Regions from separate parts of the Homo sapiens genome. Here region 2 is linked to region 1. The links are contacts of gene promoters, found by promoter capture Hi-C in blood cells and fetal thymus (Javierre and others, 2016). All regions are on one chromosome and are shown on one strand. The core of a region is centred on a gene start or on the middle of the fragment in contact, and the rest is flanking DNA. Distances in the headings are between cores, read along the strand shown. Region 1 holds the start of ALX4 (ALX homeobox 4). Region 2 overlaps CD82 (CD82 molecule).

What was found. Contacts are between HindIII fragments. The CHiCAGO score rates a contact against its expected background, and 5 or more counts as called.
Region 2: a contact is called between a fragment that was not itself captured here and the fragment with the promoter of ALX4 in region 1, in 2 of 17 cell types (total B cells and naive B cells). The highest score is 5.7, in total B cells.

Annotation. Positions count from the first base shown.
Region 1 is chr11:44,307,650-44,313,412 of GRCh38, reverse strand. It overlaps ALX4 (ALX homeobox 4), which reads left to right and starts at 3,274. Exons shown (of 4, transcript NM_021926.4): 1 at 3,274-3,816. The coding sequence starts at 3,351. RefSeq lists an enhancer at 2,368-3,296. The HindIII fragment of the contact is 7,283 bases long and covers 2,350-5,763 here.
Region 2 is chr11:44,620,021-44,625,783 of GRCh38, reverse strand. CD82 (CD82 molecule) reads right to left here. Exons shown (of 10, transcript NM_002231.4): 10 at 5,426-5,763. Among named protein-coding and RNA genes, the nearest start is that of CD82-AS1, 18 kb to the right of the region's middle. The HindIII fragment of the contact is 4,125 bases long and covers 535-4,659 here.

The DNA.
Region 1 (5,763 bases), core at 2,025-4,524:
TCCTGTCTCGGGGTTGTCATCCCCACCCCAACCCTCTCCACCACAATTTGCCTCTCATAGTCCTTCCCTCATTTTTTAGACAGGAATGGAGGTGGAGAAAGAAGCGGGGGTATTGCCACCACCTTCTGGGTGCCTACAGGCAGCTGCTGGGCACAGGAGACTGGAGTAGGCGGCTGGCTTGGAACTCCTTGACAAAAAAATGCATCTCTAAGCCCCTGGGAACCATAGGACACTTTCATTCATTCACTCAACAAGCATTTTATGAGTGCCAAGCCCTACAGCGAACAAGACAGACCTGGCCCCTGCTGTGAGAAAACTCACTGCTCTCAAGGCACAGGCTCAGGAAGGTCCAGCACGCTGTTAATTCCGCTACTTGATTTTTGAAGAGGGGGTGGGTGGGTGACCAGCTGTCCTTGACTAAGGGAAACCAAAGAAAGAGTCTCAGAACTTGGTGCTGCACTGAGCAGTTGGAATACACTGAGGTGATAGAGTCCTACAGCCCCAGGTTTAATCTTTATTTTATTTTATTTTTATTTATTTATTTTTTTTTTTGAGACGGAGTCTCACCCTGTCGCCCTGTCGCCCATGCTGGAGTGCAGTGGCACAAACTCGGCTCACTGCAAGCTCTGCCTCCCTGGTTCACGCCATTCTCCTGCCTCAGCCTCCCAAGTAGCTGGGACTACATGCGTCTGCCATCACGTCTGGCTAATTTTTGTATTTTTAGTAGAGACAGGGTTTCACCGTGTTAGCCAGGATGGTGTCGATCTCCTGACCTTGTGATCCATCCTCCTTGGCCTCCTAAAGTGCTGGGATTACAGGTGTGAGCCACCGCGCCTGGTCCAGGTTTAATCTTTTATTCCACAAATATTTGTGGGGTGCCAGGCACGTAGGAGGCTGCCCTGGGGCAACTAGTGGGGTTGAGATACACTCATAGCCAGGCAACCAGACAACCACGAGATCTGGGACGGAGATGAGGCAAACGGAAGCGTCAACTTAAACTAGGAGAGACGGGAAGTCTTCCTAGAGGAAGATGCTCTAGGCTGAACTCTGAATCATTAGCCAGACAAAAGTGCAGGAATGAGTTTAGGGAATTCCAGGTAGGGGAAACCACCTATGCTACAGTGCACAGGCTAGAGACCTTGGCAGGTTCTAGGAACTTGAAGAAACCGCTGGACAGGAGCATTTAGGATGATGGCAGGAGCACTCCGCTTTTTGCTAACTGGAAAATTATTTTGGTTGAGTCTCAGTCTACCCATATGCAAAATGGGTATGATAAGCCTTGTATTGCCAGATTGTTGGCACAACAGGAGCTCAATAAATAAAGGACTCTCAAGTGGCTTAGGTCTGCGGGCCAGTGAGGCGCGGTTCCCATTGGGCATGGAGTGGGGGGCGGCTGGAGCCTGCGCGCTCCTGGCTTGGTTTGCGGAATATCTTTATTAACGAGCACTTCAAGGTAAGCCGGCGATGGAAACCAGATGTGGGATCGCGCGGTCGGCGGCGGAGCAAGGACCAGAGATACTAAGGGGGTAGGGTGGGGGTAAGAATTAGCCCAGATGAGATTGGGAGCAGAAGCGCGACCCCCCAGGTATATTTTTTCTTTGGGAGACCTTAGATGCAGAAAGTTGACATCTGACCCACATTCCTTGGTTCACGGTGCTCAGGCCCTCTTTAATTTTACCTTGCACTTTTACCTCTCACCCTACTCCCAGACTCCCTAGAGGTACGTTCTCGCTTAACGATTTTCTCAGCGGTTTAAGGAAGGCTGCTCTCGCTGGTCTCCTTCAACTTGAACCATTCCACAGCCGGGGGCCAGTTTCCCCTCTGCATCTACGCTGTCCGCACGGCCTTCCAGGTCGGTGGAGGGACTAGCCTGAGCAGAGGTTCCAGGGCGCGACGGCTATTTCCCAGCTGTGTGACCTGGACCAGGTGGCCGCCCCTCTCTGAGCCTCCGTTAGCTCATCAGAAAATTGGGGGCGCCAATCTCTAGCACGGTTGTCATGAAGCGAAATCGAGGGGCTGCACGCGCAAAGTTTTTTCCCTTGCTGTGGCGGTGCCAGGGGCCTTGAGGCTCGCAGTGGTGGTGAAACCACAACCTATCAAAACCAAGCAGTTCGTTTTACAGTCGGGGGCAGTGAGGCCAGAAAGGGAAGAGACGGTCTCACCCCTCTCCCCGACCCCTGACCCCAAGGAGTGAACAGGTGACAGCGCGACTATCGGGCAAGGTCAGGGGGTCTCCAGAGTCCGCTCTCTGTACTTCGCCTGGCAGGAAATCCCCTCGCCTGGGCGCAGACGTGGGGCGTGAACGGTGCGGCCTCTAGACGGGAGCGCAGAGGGCAGCGCTCTAAAGCTTCTGAAGCCGGGCCCAGCCCAGGGCTTCTCCAGGGCTTGAGGGAGCACAGATTCCGCTACATCCCAGCCCAGCGCCCTTACAGCAGAGGGAAATAGTTAACAAGACGTGCAAGTGACCATGCACTGGACGACGAAGGCTTGTGTGTGTGTTAATCTCCCGTAGGAACGGGAATGGGGAGGAAGGTTGGAAACCTAGGAAAAGGTGCCAGCGGGAAGGCCCGCAGCGGCGCCCGCGAGCTCGCGCGCAGGAGTCCGTAGGACTCGCTTGCATCCGCAGGCCCGTGGTCCCCCTGGCTTCGAATGTCAAAACCTGTTAGGTTTATTTTGGGGGGCTTTTTTTTAACCTGTCATTAAAATTTGCATTTCCCTTTGCCCTAAGGCAAAGCTCCGACACCCCGCCAATTCTCAGCCTAGCCTCGGGAGCCCTGGGGATCCTGGCATCTCCCCAGCCCCGCCTAGAATCGGAAAAGCCCTCGGGCGCCTCCGGGTTGAATCCCCGCTAGCGAGTTAGTAGCATCTCCTTAAGAGTGGAGAGGAGGGGGCAGGGGCCAGTGGAAGGAGAGAGGAGGAGGGGACGAGAGAGGGGGAAAGGAAGAAGCAAGGCAGGGAAAAAAATTTACTTATTTTTTTTTTCCGCTGCAAAACCTTAAGAGGGTTTGGGAGATCTGGTCAACTTTCCGAAACATCTGAATCTTTTTACTGCCCTCCGTTCTTTCCCTCGGCTAGCTGTGGGGAGGGAGGAAAGAGAGAGAGGGAGAGAGAGAGGAAGGGGGGGGGAGGGAGGGGAAGAGAGAGAGAGGAGGGAGAGAGAGGAGAGAGACAGAGAAAGAAGAGGGGGAGAGAGAGAGAGGCCGGCGTGGAGGGGAGGAGGGAGAGCGAGCAGGCCGGGCAAGGAGTGCACAGCCACAGCCTCCTCGCCTCCCCAAACTCCCAGCCAAGGCGCGCGGTGGCGTCCTCGCGCCCTCGCTCGCGTCCCCGCCCGCCGCCTGCGCAAGCCAGGCATGAATGCTGAGACTTGCGTCTCTTACTGCGAGTCGCCGGCCGCTGCCATGGACGCCTACTACAGCCCGGTGTCGCAGAGTCGGGAGGGCTCGTCGCCTTTTAGGGCATTTCCCGGAGGCGACAAGTTCGGCACAACTTTCCTGTCGGCCGCCGCCAAAGCACAGGGATTCGGGGACGCCAAGAGCCGGGCCCGTTACGGCGCTGGGCAGCAGGACCTGGCGACACCCCTGGAGAGTGGAGCTGGGGCGCGGGGCTCCTTTAACAAGTTCCAGCCCCAGCCGTCGACCCCGCAGCCCCAGCCGCCGCCGCAGCCGCAGCCGCAGCAGCAGCAGCCGCAGCCCCAGCCGCCCGCGCAACCGCATCTTTACTTGCAGCGAGGCGCCTGCAAGACGCCCCCGGACGGCAGCCTCAAACTCCAGGAAGGCAGCAGCGGCCACAGCGCGGCCTTGCAGGTTCCCTGCTACGGTGAGTGCACGTGCGGGTCACCTGGTGCTGGGGACCACGGGGTGCTTGGCTTCCGCATCCCTTGAAACTGGTGGCTTGCGGGAGGTATGAGTTGGCGGGCTGGGGGCGGGGTGGTGACTCTGGTCGGTAAACGGGATCGATCGCTGCGAGGGAGCCAAGGGATCTGTTCTGTCTCCTTCTTGTCCGCCGGCCTAGGCACGGAGCGTTTCGGCTGTTAAACTCGACTTGGAGTTTGTTTTTCCCGGTCCCTTCGGCATTTCCCCAAACCGCTCGCTTTGCGCTGCCCGCTGGGCGGGATTTGAAGCGGATGCTTCTTACCGGCCCAGGGCGTGCGGCGGCAAGGAGTCTCCGCGCAGCGCTCTGGCGCTGGGCTGCGGGGCTGCGGGGCTGCGGGGCTGCGGGGCTGCGGGGCTGCGAGGCTGCGGGGCTGCGGGGCTGCGGGACAGCAGGACTGCAGAAGCCTCGCTCCTCGCCGGCTGGGAGGCTCCTCGGGCGGCGCCGCCGCAGGTGAGAGCGCCGCAGGTGCGGAGCCAGGCGGGAAGCCCGGAGCGTGGTTGGCCGAAAGCTCACGGGAAATCCAGGCGCACTGGCGCAACACAGTGCGGAGCCAGAGACCCTAGGGTCCCAGGGGACACTGTGGTCTGGCAAGACCCGAGTCCTGGGACCCTGAGCGCTACTGGCAGTGGGGATGCGGGCAGGCCAGTTCCCCTGGAGCTTCTCCCTCGGCGATTCTTGGAGGCGGCAGGCCTCTGAACAATGGTTTAGGACAGAGTAGGAAGGGAGACAGGAAGTCCCGAGTCCCAGGTGGCCCAGAGCTGTGGCAAGAGAGAAGGGTCTGGGTCCTGATTTGAGCCCACGGGGAACCCGGGGGAGCTGGCCTAAATGACCTCCAAGCTGCCTTGAACGCAGCCACAGGAGGCAGGCCTGGGCCCCCCAGAGCACAGCCACCATTGCCCGGGAGAGAGAGACACTCAAGGACGTCTCTAGCCAGAGCAGCTCAGTAGCCTAGGCCTTCTCTTCTTCCAGAGAATCGGGGTTCCTGAACCCCAAAGCGGAAGGGGAAGCAAAGACGCAGAAAGGGAAAAACCTTCTCTGGGCCAGGAGTCCTGAGCACATACCCGGAGGCCTTGGCCTTCAGGTCCGGCCCTGGTGGGAAGAGTTGGGGGCAGGGAATTTGCCCTGATCCAGGCTGATGGAGAGGCACTAGGCCTGGGGACAGAGGCTGGGACACGGCGGAGGCCTTGGTGGCTAGAATAACTTTGGGAAAACAGCCGATGGCAGATATTTTCTCGTATTCAGGTTCCTTCTTTCACAGGCGCAGAACTAGTTCATAGATGGCTGCTGACAAACATTCACAGTCATATGCTTGTCTACAATTGCACTCTACACACACACACGCAGAGAGCATCTTCTTTAGGAGCCGATGTGGTCATACCCCAAGAACACATGCCCATGTGGCCTCGAATGAGCCACATACTCCCAAACCCATAGGACAGAACTGAGAGAAGATTTAGAAAGATTCAGTGGCCCTTCCCCACTTCCTCCACCTTCCTCTTCACCTCCAGTTGGAATGAGATCAGGCATTCAGATCACAGACCCCCAAGGCTCCACACACAGACACCCACAGCTCCACATGCAGGCACACACAGTTCCACACACAGACACCCACTGCTCCACACACAGACACCCACAGCTCCACACACGGACACCCACAGCTCCACACACGGACACACACAGCTCCACACATGGACACACACAGCTCCACACACAGACACACACAGCTCCGCACATGGACACACACAGCTCTCATACAGGCACTCTTTCCGTGCTAAGCCAGCAGAGACTCTCAGCCCTGTCCGTACTGGCTGTCCTTCCCAGCCCAGGGATGCAGGCCCCAGCTCGTCCCTGTCATTCAGGACTATTAGGTGAGGGCAGGTCGCAGACTAG
Region 2 (5,763 bases), core at 1,348-3,847, 310 kb before region 1:
CAGGGCCTTGATCACCTTTGCTGTCCTCTCTGTCCCTGACATGGGGCGCTTTTTCTGCTGTTTTTGTGTTTTTTTCCCTGTGCCTCCCCCACAACTGGACTGTCAGCTCCACAAACTTGTTTACCTTGGTGACCCCTGATTCCTTCCACAGTGCCTGGCATAGAGTGGGTGCCTGATAAATCCTTATTGCATAGATTGATGGAGGAAAAGTTGGGTTTAGTGGACTTGTGCCTCCTTAGAAAAGGCCTACTCCTCTCCTCTTTTTATGAACCAGGGGTCTTCATTCCCATTGGCCTTGAGAACTATTGGAAAGCACACAGAGTCACAGGCCCCAGGGGCCAACCCCAGTTTCTTCAGTCACTGTGACTCTGGACCTGAAGGTGGATTTGTGAATCCAATGTGAATGACTCCTGGATTGTGTAGTTGGTCAGGGCTATGGCAAACAGCTTAGCTTTTCCAAGTTTTGGTTTCCACACTGTAAAGGGGTGGGGGGAGCAAGTGTGTCTACACTGTTGGGGTGTCAGGGTTAAAGCTTAATACTAAATCCTTGGTGGCTGCTGTGACGATGATGATGATTGGGAAGGAGACAGGGTCCCATGGCTGCTGGGGTCCACCATGCCCTCCGCAGTGGCTGCCTGCACTTTCCTCTTGCTGCCCTGCTCCCTCTTTGCCTGCTGCGAGTCCTACCTCACCCCAAAGGGTCAGCCCTGCTCATCTTCCTAGCTCCCCCAGCTGCAGTCCTGCTCATAGCATTATTCTTACTCCCACTCTGTTCCTCCCCTCTGTGGGCTCCCTTGGGTTTAGAGCCTGCCCCTCTGGGGAAGGGCCTTGATATGGTTGGGCTCTGTGTCCCCACCCAAATCTCATCTTGAATTGTACTCCCATAATTCCCATGTGTTGTGGGAGGGATCCAGTGGGAGATAAGTGAATCATGGGGCGGTTTCTCCCACACTGTTCTTGTGGTAGTGAATAAGTCACAGGAGATCTGATGGTTTTATGAGGGGTAACCCCTTTTGCTTGGCTCTCATTCTGTCTTCTCTTGTCTACCACCATGTGAGACGTGCGTTTTGCCTTCTTCCATTATTATGAGGCCTCCCCAGCTACGTGGAACTGTGAGTCCATTAAAACCCTTTCTTTTGTAAATTGCCCAGTCTTGGGTATGTCTTTATCAGCAGGGTGAAAATGGACTAATACAGGCCTCTCTCCTTCCATTTTACCAGACCCCCACTGACCCACCAAGTGGGTTCCTCGACAGCTTCCCCATGGAAAGAACTCAGACACCACCCCAAGCGCCTGAGTCCTCTATGAACCAGGACCAAGAGGATTGGGTGCTGGGATCACAGGGCCCCTGTCACCCTGGAAGCCCCAAGCTGGGCTCACCCAGGTGTGTGATGCAAGGGCAGAGGATGGACCCCTCCACTCCTATCAGCTGCCACTAACATCCCTTCCCGCCCACTCAGTCCTCCAAGAGGCTGCTGGAGACTCTCCAGCTCTCTCCTTCCACTCCCCACCTCCACACAGCCCCTCTGCACTCCCAGCTGTTCTGGCTGGCCGCCCCTCTGCCCCCAGCATCCTGCAGGAAGCCCACTCCTATCCCAGGGGCTACTGCTTAAAGCATCTGAGGTCACTTGGGGAGAGGCACTTGGCTCTGGGCCTGACATTCCCCTTGCTCAGAAGGCAGGTGCTGGGGAAATGATGTCAGATGGGACAGCTGGGGGCCGGGGTGCTCACAGCTCAGATGTCCTCTAATGGCCCTCCTACCTGCTCACCTTCCCACTAGGCAAGAGGCTGAGTACAGGTCTTACCTGCCCCAGCCCCAGCCCCTTGGGCCAATCAGCCATCCCTGCCCCGGAGGCACCAAGGCCCAAAGTCCTCCCGTGGGCCTCATTCCTACTCAGGGAAGGTATCCCCCAGAGGATGGGAAACCTCCCCTTGAAGCTGGGGCCAGTCCTGGAATGGGCTGCTTGGGGAATGAGCTCACTGTGTACGTGACCGCATTTGGCTCCCACAACAGCACTGGGAGTGAGGAATGAGAGTCCCCATTTTCCCGATAAGACTAAGAGAGGTGAAGTTGCACAGCCTGTCACGTCCAGTGGCAGCTGCTCTGATTCTATTTGATTTCAGTTGGGAAGGGGATTGCCAGGGCAATGGCTGATTCCTGCACTGTGGCAGGGGCGATGAGCACTTCCTCCTACTTTCCTGTTTGTTCGACGCGCTGTTCATTCTACTTCCTTCCACAGGAAGGGGCCTTGGATGGGCCCCAGGGATCCCACAGCAGCACTTGGCTCAGACTGTGCTGTCAGCAGTCGGCAGTGTGTGCTGGTACGTACCTGTGTACGTGTGGCAGGGTGTGCTGTGTGCATGCGTGTGCTGTGTGTGCACGTGTGTCCTGGTGCATCAGTTGTGTGCAAGAGTCTCTACACTCATCAGAATGCAGGTGCCATGTGGGCAGGGGGTTTGTGTGTGTTCACTGCTGTGTTCCTAAGATCCTAGAACTGTGCTTCACAAATAGTCTGTGCCATTAAGTATTCATGGGATGAATGAATGAATAAATGAATAAACCTTAGCCTACAGCCTCTAAAGACCCCAGAGAACAGCCAGACATTTGCCCCGAGGCAGCGTAGCAACCTGGGTCTCTGTCCTTCTGCAGGGGAGAAAGGCGATGGGAGCGCTGGCCCAGGAGATGCCTGTTGGCTAGATGCTCCAGCGTCACCAGTGTGCCCCTCCACCCGGCTGCTCTCAGCCTGGGGGACCTGCTCACCTGGAAGATCATCTGGGGCAGAGGCTGGAGGCAGCTCTGCTAGGAGACAGGATGGTGATCAGCGGCAGAGGGGGCTCTGCAGTGTAGGCCCGGGAAGGCCAGGCAGGAAGACACTTGGCTTTCCCTGTTCACTACGGGCCACCCATGGCTTAGTCTCAGGGAAGAAGAGCTAGGGTTCCTCCCAGCTGGGAATGGACTGAGCCCTCAGGGGCCTTCAGGGCCTCGAGTGTGTGCGTGTGAGAGAGTGCATGCATGTATGTGCACATGTATCAGGCTGCCATTCACCAGTACTCACCCAGCCAGCCATACCAGTTATTATGAATAAAATGGAGAAATATTTCCACACCAGTTGAAAATTCCCCCCCAGCTCAATCTCTCAGAGCTCCTGCACCTCCCGCCAATCCATACGTAAGGATCCCATTCCAGCTCAGGCCTGACTTCCATACCTATTGGTCAGTGGCCATGCCAATCAGTGCCCCCCAAAGTCCAGCTCCCTGAACACATCCTAGGCACTGTCTCTAACCTCCCACGGGAGCCCAAAGAGCAACCCTTTGCTCCAGCCATTCTTCCTGGCTGCCCCAGGGAGCTGTGGGTGGGCACTGCCAAGGAGCACCCTTGTACTCTCCTCCACATGGTACCCATGTGCCAGTCCTTTGGGCCTGTCAGGGCCCTTGGCAGGAGAGATGGCAGCCCACAGAGGGCCCAGGGAGGGCAGCTGGAAGGTGTGGAAGCCCCAGATGGGCATGGGACAGATTAGTGGCTGCAGGGACGATTCTGAGTGTTAGACATGGGTCTATGTTCCCTCCCTCCCAAAACCTCACAGGCTGGGAGTAAGTGGGTTGCTGAAACTGGGTGCTCCCCAGGAGGTTGAAATGAGGAACCCAGCAGGCTCAGAGCTCACAGTGACCAGATTTCACAAAAGCGAGGGTCAGAGCCTCACACTACACACGTCCTGGGGCTGTTCTGGGAAATCTGGAAGGGCAGGAGCCAGTGGAGCCAGGAGGATGGTCTTTGAAGTCAGATACGTGGGGTTCAAATCCTGGCTCTGGCCCCTTCCAGCTGTGAGCTCTGGGCAGGATGGACGTGTCAGAGGAAGCAGCCCACCCCTTCGCTAACTTCTGACGTTTTCTCAGTCCTCTATTTTGCAAACAGCTTTGAGCCCACCCTCAGCCTGCCAGGCCCCGTGTCGCACAGGAAGATGGAGATGCAGCTGGACTCAAACTCAGGTCCCCTTGCTCCCAGTGAGAAAGCATTTATGAAAAGACACCCAACAGCTCTCTGCTACCCTTCCTGAGGGTGGAAGCTGTGGGGGGCCAGGGAAGTCAGGCCAGGTGGAACCATCGACATTTTCCTCTCCTGCCCCCATCCCAGAGGGAGGCGACCAAGGCCACAGAGGGACCCACAGCCGACCCCACCGCTGACACCTCCTCAGCTGCCACATTCGCTGAGAGGTCATCACGTGGCTTGGGACAGACATTACTCCAGGTCTGAAAATCTTCCGGAATCAACGCAAAGGGGTGCAAATAGGCAGATTCCTTGTCCCCACCCTAGATCTGCAGCGCCAGAATCCTTGAGCCTTGGAATCTGCATTTTCACAAGTGCTTCCACTGGAGTGGGACGCTGGCAGGCCCCGCGTTGGCGAAACTGGGAGTAACCACGGAACCTTTGGGCTCTGCCGGGCTCCTAGGCTGAGGCTGCAGCGCCGCCTGGTGGTCCCTGCTGAAACACCACTCTAGCCGCCGCCCCGCCTGGCCCCACTGCAGGGAGGCAAGAGTTCCCCTCCCCACTGGCTCCAGAAATGAGAGAAGGTGGGGCAAGTGCCCTCTGGACTTCATGACGCCGGGCAAGGGGCATGCTGGGGCTCAGTCGTCAGAGCCGTGCACAAGTAAGAGCAAGCTTCTTTTTCTTTTTCTCTCTCTCTCTCTGTCGTTTTCTTTTTCTTCCTTTCTTCTTTTTTGACAGATTCTCGCTCTGTTGCCCAGGCTGAAGTGCAGTGGCACAATCTTGGCTCACTGCAACCTCCATCCCCCGGGTTCAAGCAATTCTCCTTTCTCAGCCTCCTGAGTAGCTGGCATTACAGGCGTGCACCACCACACTCGGCTAATTTCTGTATTTTTTGGAGAGATGGGGTTTCACCATGTTGGCCAGGTTGGACTCGAACTCCTGACCTCAAGTGATCCACCTGCCTCAGCCTCCCAAAGTCTCACATTTCATCTTAAAAAGTCCCCTGAATTCTGCACATCTTACTCCATCACATTTCTTTAGTATGAAAATGTTTCCTTCCACAAATCTTTGCAGAAACGGATGCTCTAGAAAGCGATGCCAAGTTTATCCTGTGGCTTCCCTGTCCCCCATCACCAGCCCACTTTTGTGCAGCTTCTGGGGGCACCCATACCCTAGTTTCAGAAGCAGGAATTGAGAGGTACAATCTATACCTCTCTTAGCACCAAATCAAACTCCAGGCACCCCGGCATGCAGGCAGGCCCATCAGAGCCTGGCCCATCACGGTCCTAAGGTTCAGGCTGCAGAAGCAGATGCCTGCGGGGAGGGCAGAGCAGTGAGGGGTCCAGCAGTCTCCAGCAGACCCAGCCACTCTGCTCACACCCTCTGCCCTGGGTCCTCCCCTGCCCCAGGAAGCAGCATCCCTACCATTCCAGACTAGACTGTTATAAATCCTCTTTAATAGTCTTAGAATCTTGAGTGTGTTTTACAGAATGGTGCACACAAAGCCCCCTCCCCTCTCCCCCTACAAGGCACAGCCTCACCCACCCCACTCCCCAGGGGCCAGAGGACCGCTTGCCAAGAAAGGCCAGCCCACCTTCTCCCAGGAGAAGCCATCCTCCTCCTCCCCGCCCCTGGCCAGCTCCGGACCCTGGAGAATACAGGACCAGCTCTGTGCCATGCCCCCAAGGACTCACCTGTCCCTAAGCAGCTCAGGGCCAAGCCAGATCCCCTTACCCAGGCAGACCCCCTCCAGCCCAGCTCCCCTAGGCCGTGTCCCT